Regions from separate parts of the Homo sapiens genome. Here region 1 is linked to region 2. Evidence: promoter capture Hi-C in 16 types of primary human blood cells and fetal thymus (Javierre and others, 2016). All regions are on one chromosome and are shown on one strand. The core of a region is centred on a gene start or on the middle of the fragment in contact, and the rest is flanking DNA. Distances in the headings are between cores, read along the strand shown. Region 1 has its middle 3.6 kb from the start of TRQ-CTG1-2. Region 2 holds the start of H2BC17 (H2B clustered histone 17).

Region 1 (6,200 bases), core at 776-3,275, 370 kb before region 2:
TTTCATTTGCCACTGAGAAACAAGGATTAGTGAAAATAAATCTGTACTTTAAATAAAAATTGCTTAAACTCTCTTAGGTATTTGAACACTATTGGATCCTCACATGGTAACTTCAATCACTGTCAACACGGTAAGTAAATATCCAGATACACCTTCTAAGTGCTCTGTTGGTCATTTCTGTGACATTAACCCGCCACACAGAATTGCTGTCAATGCTGAATACGTCCCATAGAATGATAGAGCTTTAAAATTGTATCCTAGGATGCCTCTGTGATTATTTTGTCTTCATAAAACTAAATGTCTCTTGTTGCAAGTTAGTTTATTTTCTGGTAAATGTTTGGATTTGTCACAACTTAAGGAAAGACAAAGAAGTTACTGGGTCTCTGAAGAATTAAGGCCAAAGTGCTTTCCTTAGTTTGATTTTATCTATTAGTATTTATAAAATTGTGTCTTTTAATTGTGGATACAGGGTATCAGGCTATATGTTATAATCTTTTTTCATTTAATCTTATATTGCTAAAATTAATCATCTCTTTTGTTGTATGTAGCTACCATTCATTCATTGATTTCATGTTAGCTGCTGTGTAATATGAACATGCCACAGCTCATTCATTCATCTTTCCATTAATGGGAAACCAAGAGATGTTTATAATATAAATTTGATTTTGAATTATGGCAATTCTTGGGTCACAAAAATTAAAAATTATTTTACTGCAGAGGAAATTCCTGATTCTGCAACCATACATTTAATGGAGAATTTATAACTTTGAATTGTCATTTTCATTTTCCAAATGCTTCCACACATAATGATTATTTGCCCTTTTATATTGTACTACCCATTCCTTCTGATTCCTCATGCATTTTCTAGTGTTAACTGCTAGCAGCATTATGTTCCCCAGCATGGAATGCCTTTGCTAGGCCTTATGCCACCACTGCCTCTAAAAGCTTAAATATCTACCTGCATTTAGCAGATATCTATTCATTACCCTTACCAAGGCAAATGTTGCAAGAAAATAGATGCTTACCTTTAATTTAGATGGACCTAATTTGCTTCTAAACATTTCTTCATAGACTTTATTATACTTGCATAAAGATGCATCATGATAAAATACATAATTTTGGAGTTTTTCTCCCTTGTTTATATACATGTTTCTTCTGAAAGAAGAAATACATCTGATTGGAAAACTTAGGGCACATGCGTGCCATCCTAGCTACATAGAAGCCTAAGAAATTGTTTTAGACAGTTTGGACTACTATAACTATATAATGTTTGTTGACTTAAACAACAAACATTTATTTCTCACAATTCTGAAGGCTGGGAAACCCAAAATCAAGGTTCCAGCTGATTCAATGTCTGGTGAGCCCTCCCTTCTTGATTTGCAGCCTACTGTCCTCTTGCTCTATCCTCACATACTGGGGGGACAGAGAGAGAGAGAGAGAAACAGAGAGAGAGAGGCTTCCACATATGCATTTGAGTCCATTCAGTCCATAGCAGGAATTTAGTTATCACAGAACCATTGAGGATGCACAGTTCATTGGTAGAGAATTCTCCCTAGTCATATGAAGTCTTAGGCATATTAGACCACTATGTTCATCAATATGATTATCTATAATTTCTTTTCTTCCTAAACTTTTCTTTTTCCATCAATTTTCTCTTTCATTATGATTCAGCCACAGAATCTGTTAAAATAGGCCGGGCACAGTGGTTCATGCCTGTAGTTTCCACAGTTTCAGAGGGTGAGGTGGGTGGATCACTTAAGGCCAGGAGTTGGTGACCAGCCTGAGCAAGATGGTGAGTCCCTGTCTCTACAAAACTAATATTTGTTAAATAATCTGTTAAAATATTAGTTAATAATTACTAAATTTTGAGATGTAGAAACAAAATGGAACTAAAATGATGAATAACAATAATACACAAAATGGGATGTTGTAATAAGGATCAAATTATACTGGAGTCATTTATCATAATAAAAGATAATTTTTAGAACTGTTTACTGAAGTTATAATTCATGCAAATGCTGAACGAATGACTATGAAATTAGTACTTGTCTGAGGGCATGGCCAAAGCTACGCAGTAGTGCCTCTTTGCTGTGAATAAAATGCCAGGATGTAAAAATTTAAGAATTTTATTGAAAAACTAATTATTATTAGCATTATATTTAATGTATTATATTTTATATTAATATATTACTATAAGAACTGTATTATAATCAAAACTTTACTAGTCAAAATTTCAAAGGTTGATATTATTGTGTATTGATATCATTTACTAGATTTTTCTTCAGTCACCCTACAGCACAGCTGGGCCAAAAAATAGATGCCCACTTTTAACTTAGATGGACTTCATTGCTTCTAAACATCTCCTCTTTTCTTCAAAGACTTTGTTATACTTGCATAAACAAAGATTTGTCATGATATAATACAAAATTTTGGAACGTTTCCCCCTTGTGAAAGTTTAATGTGACAAAATAGACATTTTGCTTTTAAGTTATTTTGACAAAATGAAAAAAATTGTCAAATAGAACTTTTGTTTAAAGACTCAAGGCTAATATAGAAAATAGTTTTTGAAGGTATTTTTAAATATTCTAGAAATGAAGAATTAAGATATAATTACAACTTTATTATTCTTCATTTTATTCTAATGTAAATATTTATAATATTTGTTGAGAATAAAAGTATGTGATGTTCTTCCTATACAGCAATCTAAAGAACTCTTATATTTATATTAACTTCCTTATATTAATTTCAATTTTATTAATTCTTAATATTACATAAAATATAAAGTTTTTCACAAATTATTAATTATTGAAGCATTTTATCCCTAAAATAGTAAAAATCCATTCATATTTCAATGATTGACAGTATCTTAACAAAGCTCACAAGATTTTCACTCTATGCTTAATAGCTAAAATTCTTATTCTTGTACTAAACAATAACAGTACTAAAAAATAAATAAATAAAATAAGACAACTATACTATTCAGATACTAAAAGTAAACCTGGCCTTTTCCGCCTGTGGACACTGCTGAGGAAGCACTGTTAAACGCCCTTCTTCCCACTGCCATCATATCTAAGTCAGCGTCTCCTAAAGAGCCCGAACAGCTGCTGAAGCTTTTCATTGTCATTGGAGGGTTGAATTTTGTTTTTTTCGGTTTTGTTTTTGTTTTTTTTGAGACGAGTCTCTTTCTGTCGCCAAGCTGGAGGAGTGCAGTGGCGCAATCTGGGATCGCTGCAACCTCCGCCTCCTGAGTTCAAGTGATTCTCCTGCCTCAGCCTCCCAAGTAGCTGGGACTACAGGCGGGCACCACCACGCCTGGCTAAGTGTGTGTGTGTGTGTGTGTGTGTCTGTGTGTGTGTAGTACAGACGTGGTTTCACTATGTTGTCCAGGTTGGCCTCCCAGAGTGCTAGGATTACAGGCATGAGCCACTGCACCTGGCCAGGAGGGTTGAGCTTTGAAACAACTGATGAGAGCCTGAGGAGCCATTTTGAGCAATAGGGAACGCTCACGGACTGTGTAGTAAAGAAAGATCCAAACACCAAGCACTCCAGGGGCTTTGGGTTTGTCACATATGCCGGTATGGAAAAGGTGGATACAGCCATGAATGCAAGGCCGCACAAGGTGGATGGAAGATTTGTGGAACCAAAGACAGCTGTTTCAAGAGAAGATTCTCAAAGACCAGGTGCCCACTTAACTGTGATAAAGATGTTAAAGAAGAACTGAAGAACATAAACTAAGAGATTATATTGAACAGTATGGAAAAATTGAAGTGATTGAGATCATGACTGACCGAGGCAGTGGCAAGAACAGGGGCTTTGCCTTGTAACTTTTGATGACCATGACTCCATGGAAAGGATTGTCATTCAGAAATACCACACTGTGAATGGCCACAACTGTGACTTTAGGAGTGCTCTGTCAAAGCAAAAGATGTTTAGTGCTTCATCCAGCCAAAGAGATCGAAGTGGTTCTGGAAACTTTGGTGGTGGCGTTGGAGGTGGTTTTGGTGAGAATGACAACTTCGGTCGTGGAGGAAACTTCAGTGGTTGTGCTGGCTTTGGTGGCAGAAGTGGTGGTGGTAGATAGGGTGGCAGTGGGAATGGCTATAACAGATTTGATAATGATGGAAGCAATTTTGGAGGTGGTGGAAGCTACAATGATTTTGGCAATTACAACGATCGGTCTTCAAATTTTGGACCCATAAAGGGAGGAAACTTTGGAGGCAGAAGCTCTGGTCCCTATGGTGGTGGAAGCCAATACTTTGCCAAACCATGAAACCAAGGTGGCTATGGCAGTTCCGTAGCAGCAGTAGTTACGGCAGTGGTAGAAGATTTTAATTACTGCCAGGAAACAAAGCTTACCAGGAAAGGAGAGTCAAAGAAGTGACAGGGAAGCTGCAGATTACAACCGATTTGTGAACTCAGCCAAGCCCAGTGGTGGAAGGGCCTAACTGCTACAAAGAAGACATGTATTAGACAAATACTCATGTATATGGGCAAAAAACTTGAGGACTGTATTTATGACTAATTGTATAATAGGTTATTTTAGTTTCTGTTCTGAGGAAAGTATAAATCATTTCAACAAAGGGTTTTAATATAGTGTGTTTTTTTTTTTTTGCACCTAGGCTGTTGGATGCCAAATGTAATAGTCTAATCATGACTCTGAATAAATGTGTCTCTTTGAAAAATGTGCTATGTAAAGTTAGTCTACTCTGAAGCCATCTTGGTAAATTTCCCCAACATTGTGAAGGGAATTCCTTCAGGGTGATGCCACATTCTATTTGGAATTTGTATATGACCTGCTTGGGTGGAGAAGCCATTATCTTCAGTAACCTTGGTGTAGTTGAACTGATAGTTACTGTTGTGACTTGAAGTTCACCATTAAAAGAGTTCACCGGGCCAGGCGCGGCGGCTCACATTTGTAATTCCAGCACTTTAGAAGGCTGAGGCAGGAGAATTGCTTGAACCCAGAAGGCAGAGGTTACAGTGAGGAGAGATCTTGTCATTGCGCTCCAGCCTGGGCGACAGAGTGAGACTCCAACTCAAAAAAAAAAAAAAAATTAGGCTCAAGGATTCCAGAAATAACATGGAAGTAGATATCTGGCTATTTGACTTTCATTCTGGGATGGGGGTAGGGGGTTCTTTACAGCCTGGGGCAATGAAAGTCTCAGCTCCCTGTTCTGCTTTCTTCGAGAAGTGTGTGTGTGTGTGTGTGTGTGTGTGTGTGTGTGTGTGTGTGTGTGTGTTGGAGGTAGAGGGAATGCACCTTGTTACAGCTTGATGGAAGTCTAGATTCCCCACTTTGCCTTTGCTGTTGTGTGTGAAGGTTTGGACGACAGTTGTTTTTTTTTTTTTTTTCCTCTTCCAGCTTCCCAAGAGCAGAAGTCCGTAGAAATGGAGTTTGTAACTCCACTGAACACACAAAATTAGCTAAAAAAAAATAACAAGTCACAAAACAAAAATTTTAAAAATGTAAAACTTTTAGAAGTAGAGTCAGGCTTCGGCCGGGCGCGGTGGCTCACGCCTGTAATCCCAGCACTTTGGGAGGCCGAGGTGGGCGGATCACGAGGTCAGGAAATAGAGACCATCCTGGCTAACTCGGCTAACTCGGTGAAACCCCGTCTCTACTAAAAATACAAAAAATTAGCCGGGCGTGTTGGCGGGCGCCTGTAGCCCCGGCTACTCTGGAGGCTGAGGGAGGAGAATGGCGTGAGCCCGGGAGGCGGAGCTTGCAGTGAACCAAGATCGCGCCACTGCACTCCAACCTGGGCAACGGAGCGAGACAGTGTCTCAAAAAAAAAAAAAAAAAAAAAAGGGGAGTCAGGCTTTGGTCCAATAACTCATTAAAAGATTATTATTATTATTATAATTATTATTATTATTATTATTATTAGTTTGAGACGGAGTTTCGCTCTTGTTGCTCAGGCTGGAGTGCAATGGCATGATCTCAGCTCACCGCAACCTCCGCCTCCTGGGTTGAAGCGATTCTCCTGTCTCAGCCTCCCGAGTAGCTGGGATTACAGGCATATGCCACCACGCCGGCCTAATTTTGTATTTTTAGTAGAGACAGGGTTTCTTCATGTTGATCAGGTTAGCCTCAAACTCCTGACCTCAGGTGATCCGCCTGCCTCGGCCTCCCAAAGTGCTGGGATTACAGGCGTGAGCCACTGCGCCCGGAAAGACTTATTCTTTCTTATTCTTATTCT
Region 2 (5,757 bases), core at 394-2,893:
GATTTTAGTTGATCAAAGAACTACCAGGTTCTGGTATTGATAAAGACCCATAAAGACAACAAAAAGGTTAGTTTAACATTTATTATATTCACAGGAGCAAATGATCACCAGAAATACTTTTGTTTGGGTTTTGTTTTTCTTTTTTTGAGACGGGGTCTCGCTTTGTCACCCAGGCTGGAGTGCAGTGGCGAGGTCATGGCTCACTGAAATCTCAAATTCCTGGGACTCAAGTGTTCCTTCTGCTGTCAGTCCGCCAAATACAGGCGAGGGCCTCGCGCCTGGTATTTTTTTTCTTTCTTTTTTTTAGATGGAGTCTCGCTCTGTCGCCCAGGCTGGAGTGCAGTGGCGTGATCTCGGCTCACTGCAACCTCTGCCTCCTGGGTTCAAGCGATTCTCCTGCCTGTCTCCTTAGTAGCGCTCGCCACCACGCCCGGCTAATTTTTGTGTTTTTAGTAGGGACAGGGTTTCACCATGTTTGCCTGGGTGGTCTCGATCTCTTGACCTTGTGATACACCCTCCTCGGCCTCCCAAAGTGCTGGGATTACAGGCGTGAGCCACCGCGCCCAGTCATTTTTTTTTTAAGAGGCAGGGGTCTCGTTATCAGGGTGGTCTCGAACTCCAGGTCCCTAGAGATTTCTCCCCTCCCCACCCACCTGCCTCAGTTTCCCAAAATGCTAAGGACGCATAAACCACCGCGCCCGGCCCCAAGTTTTTTAAAGACCCAGGACAGTTTGTGGGGAGGGGACAATTAAGGAGGTTCCTTCATGTTATAAGGTAGCAGTTGGATAGTATTTACTAGGCCTGATTCAATACTTTTATTTTACCCAATAGGAAAGTAATGGCCTCAGTGCTTGAACTCGGCCACAAATTTCTGATAGGTTTGGAGAACAGAGTGCTCAGTTCTTCCGTAGAAATGGTGGGTGGCTCTGAAAAGAGCCTTTTGTCTTGTAAGTTTACATTTTTAAAGTTCAGCCCTTACTTGCCCTTAGCTTTGTGGTGGCTCTCAGTCTTCTTGGGGAGCAGTACGGCCTGGATGTTAGGCAGAACACCGCCCTGAGCGATGGTAACTTTACCAAGCAGCTTGTTGAGCTCCTCGTCGTTGCGGATGGCCAGCTGCAAGTGGCGCGGGATGATGCGGGTCTTTTTGTTGTCGCGGGCTGCGTTGCCCGCCAGCTCCAGGATCTCGGCAGTTAGGTACTCCAGCACCGCCGCCAGGTAAACCGGCGCGCCGGCCCCGACCCGCTCAGCGTAGTTGCCCTTGCGGAGCAGGCGGTGCACTCGTCCTACAGGAAATTGGAGCCCAGCTCTAGAGGAGCGGGTTTTGGCCTTGGCGCGAGCCTTGCCGCCCTGCTTGCCACGTCCAGACATGGTAAAACGACCTGTGGCCTAAGTCAGAAAGTGAGTGAAAGGAACCTACAGGGACGCGCATTTTATAGCAGCTGCTGGGCGCGAAAAAGAAGCTGGGCCATTGGCTAAGCTTGCAGCTTCCTCTTAATGCAAATGAGCTTTCTGAATATACGTGTTTTGATTGGACTATATTGATATTAACGTCATCTGAGTAACTTCCAATCAGACAGAAGAATTTCTCAATCTCATCTGCATATAGACTTGTAAATAAATAGGGCATAACCCAGCTTGTCCTCATTCTTGTTATTTGAGTGCTCTTTCACTCTCCTCCGCCATGCCCGACCCGGCTAAATCTGCTCCTGCCCCCAAAAAGGGCTCCAAGAAAGCCGTAACCAAGGCCCAGAAAAAGGACGGCAAGAAGCGCAAGCGCAGCCGCAAAGAGAGTTACTCTATCTACGTGTACAAGGTGCTGAAGCAAGTCCACCCCGACACCGGCATCTCATCGAAGGCCATGGGCATCATGAACTCCTTCGTCAATGACATCTTTGAGCGCATCGCTGGCGAGGCTTCCCGCCTGGCGCATTACAACAAGCGCTCGACCATCACCTCCAGGGAGATCCAGACGGCCGTGCGCCTGCTGCTGCCCGGGGAGCTGGCCAAGCACGCCGTGTCCGAGGGCACAAAGGCCGTCACCAAGTACACCAGCTCCAAGTGAGCTCTCGCAGCTGCCAGCAATCCAAAGGCTCTTTTCAGAGCCACTCACGCTTCCAGAGAAAGAGCCTGTGCATTTTGCTTGTAGTCTTTTGGGTGGACTCCGGCCGGCCTCCATTAGGAGGGAAGACGGCGGGAAAAGGTAAGCTAAGCTCCCTAGGCTTTTTGCGTGTGAGTATAGACGCTCCATCAGACAAATTTAGCTTGGGTTCTTAGATACCCTTGGGGAAAAAGGCTTGCAGTTGTGCTTTAAGCTATAATTACAAGTTTGCTTTCGGTTTTCGGTTACTCTTTCCTTTTGTGTTGTTTTTTTTTTTTTTTTTTAAATGGAGTCTTGGCTCTGTCGCCCAGGATAGAGTGCAGTGCCGCGATCTCGGCTCACTGTAAGCTCCGTCTCCCGGGTTCAACCAATTCTGCTTCGGCCTCCTAAGTAGCTGGGATTACAGGCGCCCGCCACCGTGCCCGACTAATTATTGCATTTTTAGTAGAGACGGAGTTTTACCGTCTTGACCAGGCTAGTCTCGAACTCCTGACTTCGTGATCCACCCATCTCGGCCTCCCAAAATGTTGGGATATCAGGCGTGAGCCATCGCGCGCGGCCGGGTTATTCTTTCAGTGCCTGTAACGTCCCCCTTCTTTGATTGGTCAACGCTCTATTTGAAAAGCCCGCCAAGGGCTGCAATTTGCCAGATAGTCTCATCCGGGTTGTTTTTCGAAGAGGTTCTCCCGGAATGGAAATGACCGTTATCTGCAGGAGTGCATCGGACTCTGGCGCCAAGAGCTGGAAGCTGTGAATTAACCGTCCCTCTTACTGCAGTTGTACGGATCCTGGGTGACATTGACTTACCGGTGTCCATTTTCCATACACTTTAGAGAATAGGCATCTCGTCTGGCATCGCTGCAGATATGTTAGGGTGGGTTGAAATTATTGGTGTCAAAGCGGGACGGGAAACATTAAAGGCTAAGGAAGCTCCTTTAGGATAAAATGTTGAACAAAGAACCTGGCAACTTGGGAAAGCCGCTTTTTTGCAATGTTAATCAGTTGGCCTTGGGGAGGGAGGTGTGCCAGGATTAGCTGGGGCGGGGGCAGCGTTCAGGCTGGGATTTTAAAGTCCATGATTAGGAATCCTGAGATAGAAGTTGGAGAACCCCGCGTTTAAAGAGAAGCGGACCCCAGAAGAGATCACAGAAATAGGAGGTAAACCAAGAGCGTGCGAGTACAAGGGAGTGGAGACTTTTCAAGGCATGATCCCCTCTTCTCAACAGTGCCTGAATTCTCATAGCATTGCATCCTCTGCCACTGCGTTATCCCCTCTTCAATAAATTACTTCTATTGTAAATCTTTAGCAGCAAAATAGCAAGCCCCTCCACAATTCCACTCCAGGCTTTAAAATCACCCCTTAACTTTTCCTTTATTTTCCTGACGTCACTTCCTTTGCAGCTATGGGTGGAAGGCTATCTCGGACGAATAGTCTCGTCTCTGTCACAGGTGACAAACAGCCCCGAATTATGCCAATTGGTTAGTGGGTCGTTCAAAATACATTGTAGGATTTGCCGTTCACTTCCCTAAAATGTTCTCTTCCCCAGTCCCCGTACCTTGTCATTAAAGTTTGGTGCCTCGGGCTTGGCGACAGAGCTTATCGACAAGCTAAGTTACTTGGAGAGCAGTCCCCTGATTTCATCATGTTCTTTAACTTGGCATCACATTTGCCCCCTCCTTTCATTCCTCTTCGCTCTCTTTTTCGAGATTCGTTTCTCCCTGCCCATCCCGCGTCCTTGAGAGAACATCTGAGGGGTGATTATCCTCCGAGTGGGTGAGAGAGTACGTGTGGCCTTCTCCTGCCATCTTGTGGCAAAAAAGCAAAAGCACAAGTTCAAGGCGTTGTGTTTTCCAGCCCCAGTTAAAATGCTTTCTTCTTAACTTTCTACTGAGTCAGTGGGCTAGGGCAGGGTTTCCATTTTTCACTCCTTTTAATTGCAGGATTCAAGTTTCTTCAAGAGTTGTTAGTGCGGAGGTTAAAAGGGAGCGGGAGGGGGGCGGGGGAGTTAATAGGAAGAGCGAGGAGTGGGTAAAGGAGAAAGTCCTGTTGAGCTTTGTGATCTGGTCAGAGCTGTCCAAAAGAAATAAACAAATAAAAAAAGCCAAAATGCTTTATACCCTAAAATAAATAATAATACGATCGTGCTTTCTAGTTCTATTAGATTAAGTCCCCACACTTACAACTCAATTTAACCTTAATTATCTGTTTAAAGGCCCTGTCTTCAAATACCAACCACACTGAGGGCTGGGACTTCGACATGAAGTTGTTTTCTTTTGTTTTGTTTTTTGAGACAGAGTCTCACTCTGTCGCCCAGGCTGGAGTGCAGTGGCGCAATCTCGGCTCACTGCAACTTCCACCTCCTGGGTTCAAGTGATTCTTCTTCCTCAACCTCCTGAGTAGCTGAACTACAGACAGGCACCTGCCACAGCGCCCAGCTAATTTTTGTGTTTTTAGTACAGACAGGGTTTCACCATGTTGTCCAGGCTGGTCTTGGACTCCCAAAGTTCTGGGATTACAGGCGCGAGCCACTGCACCTGGTCTGTTTTGGGGGAACACAATGAAGTCCATAACAGCACTTAAGACCATTTTCCATGCTTTCATCCCGACTTTCTATTCCAAGTTCTCCTTTATAAAATATCTACATTTAGCTTAATTTGCAGATAAGGTGACAGTTATGATATTCCTTAAACCAGAAGTTAAAAGTCAGTTGCTAACAAAGGCCCAGCACATTAGAGCAAAAACAGCTGGATATTAAAAAGCACGCCTTATCTCTATAAAGAGAGGTGCTATTTGCTATTTTTCTTGAAACACCCAGACTTCTGGCATATTTCATTTTTCCAGTTTTGATAGAGATACTTGACCAAGATATATTTCACTGTTTTCTTAATTCTGCTGTAAGAACAACCATAGCACAAGCATATTGATAAATGCCAACTAATATGGAAACTAACAGGACCAGTGGTAACTTGAGAACTGAAGACAAAACCTGTGCAATTTGATTTCACTGATTTCTCCCTTCTAGCAATGCAAGCACAAGGACAGTGTGACTTCCAATTTTTCAAGAGTATATGCAGCTTAATGTGAAATATTATAAATTTTCAATACTGAGAGCTAATAAAATATATATATCATGGTACAGACTATTAAAAAAAAATGTCTGTTGACTTCATCAAGTCCTTCACCTCTAAAGTAGAGATCTCATGAAGCCCTTCATCCTTGAAGTTGAGATCTCTGGACATTAACAAAGACTCCTGTATCCATGACAAGCTTTTCACCAAGCTGCTCTTTCTGCCATCAGGGCCCAGATCAAATGCCCCGGCCTTCCCAACTTTCTAAATTCTCAGCTGAAAATAATTCATTCCTCACTTGGCCCCTCTGGATAAAGCATCAGGCCTCACATACATCAGGCATTGAAGAGTTATTTTCTGCTAGTTAAGTAAACAGATACAGTGAACTAAAAGAAAAAACAAAAAATTCAGTTCTCACAGCTATGAGGTAAAAGTGGTGAAAGGTATTTGGAGTTGTTCATTGTGGATTGAGTAGTTACCTGGGTAAATAAGCCAGTTCTTTTCTATTTATGTTACATTTTCTTACTTTTTTATTAATGTTATTCTTTGTGGGGGTGGGGACTTCCCAGCAAAAACCAGAAGGCCTGCTA

What was found. The method cuts DNA at HindIII sites, captures the fragments that hold promoters and counts their contacts. A CHiCAGO score of 5 or more calls a contact.
Region 1: a contact is called between a fragment that was not itself captured here and the fragment with the promoter of H2BC17 in region 2, in 3 of 17 cell types (naive B cells, total CD8 T cells and activated CD4 T cells). The highest score is 6.5, in naive B cells.

The regions. Positions count from the first base shown.
Region 1 is chr6:27,520,008-27,526,207 of GRCh38, forward strand. It overlaps the pseudogene HNRNPA1P1. Among named protein-coding and RNA genes, the nearest start is that of TRQ-CTG1-2, 3.6 kb to the left of the region's middle. The HindIII fragment of the contact is 2,165 bases long and covers 944-3,108 here.
Region 2 is chr6:27,891,782-27,897,538 of GRCh38, forward strand. H2BC17 (H2B clustered histone 17) reads left to right here and starts at 1,644. Exons shown (of 1, transcript NM_003527.4): 1 at 1,644-2,110. The coding sequence starts at 1,682. The coding sequence ends at 2,062. H2AC17 (H2A clustered histone 17) reads right to left here and starts at 1,404. Exons shown (of 1, transcript NM_003514.2): 1 at 918-1,404. The coding sequence starts at 1,368. The coding sequence ends at 976. It also overlaps the pseudogene RNU7-26P. RefSeq lists enhancers at 530-1,073, 678-727, 1,074-1,617, 1,638-1,877, 2,268-2,407 and 1 more and a cis regulatory region at 3,743-4,027. The HindIII fragment of the contact is 3,889 bases long and covers 1,476-5,364 here.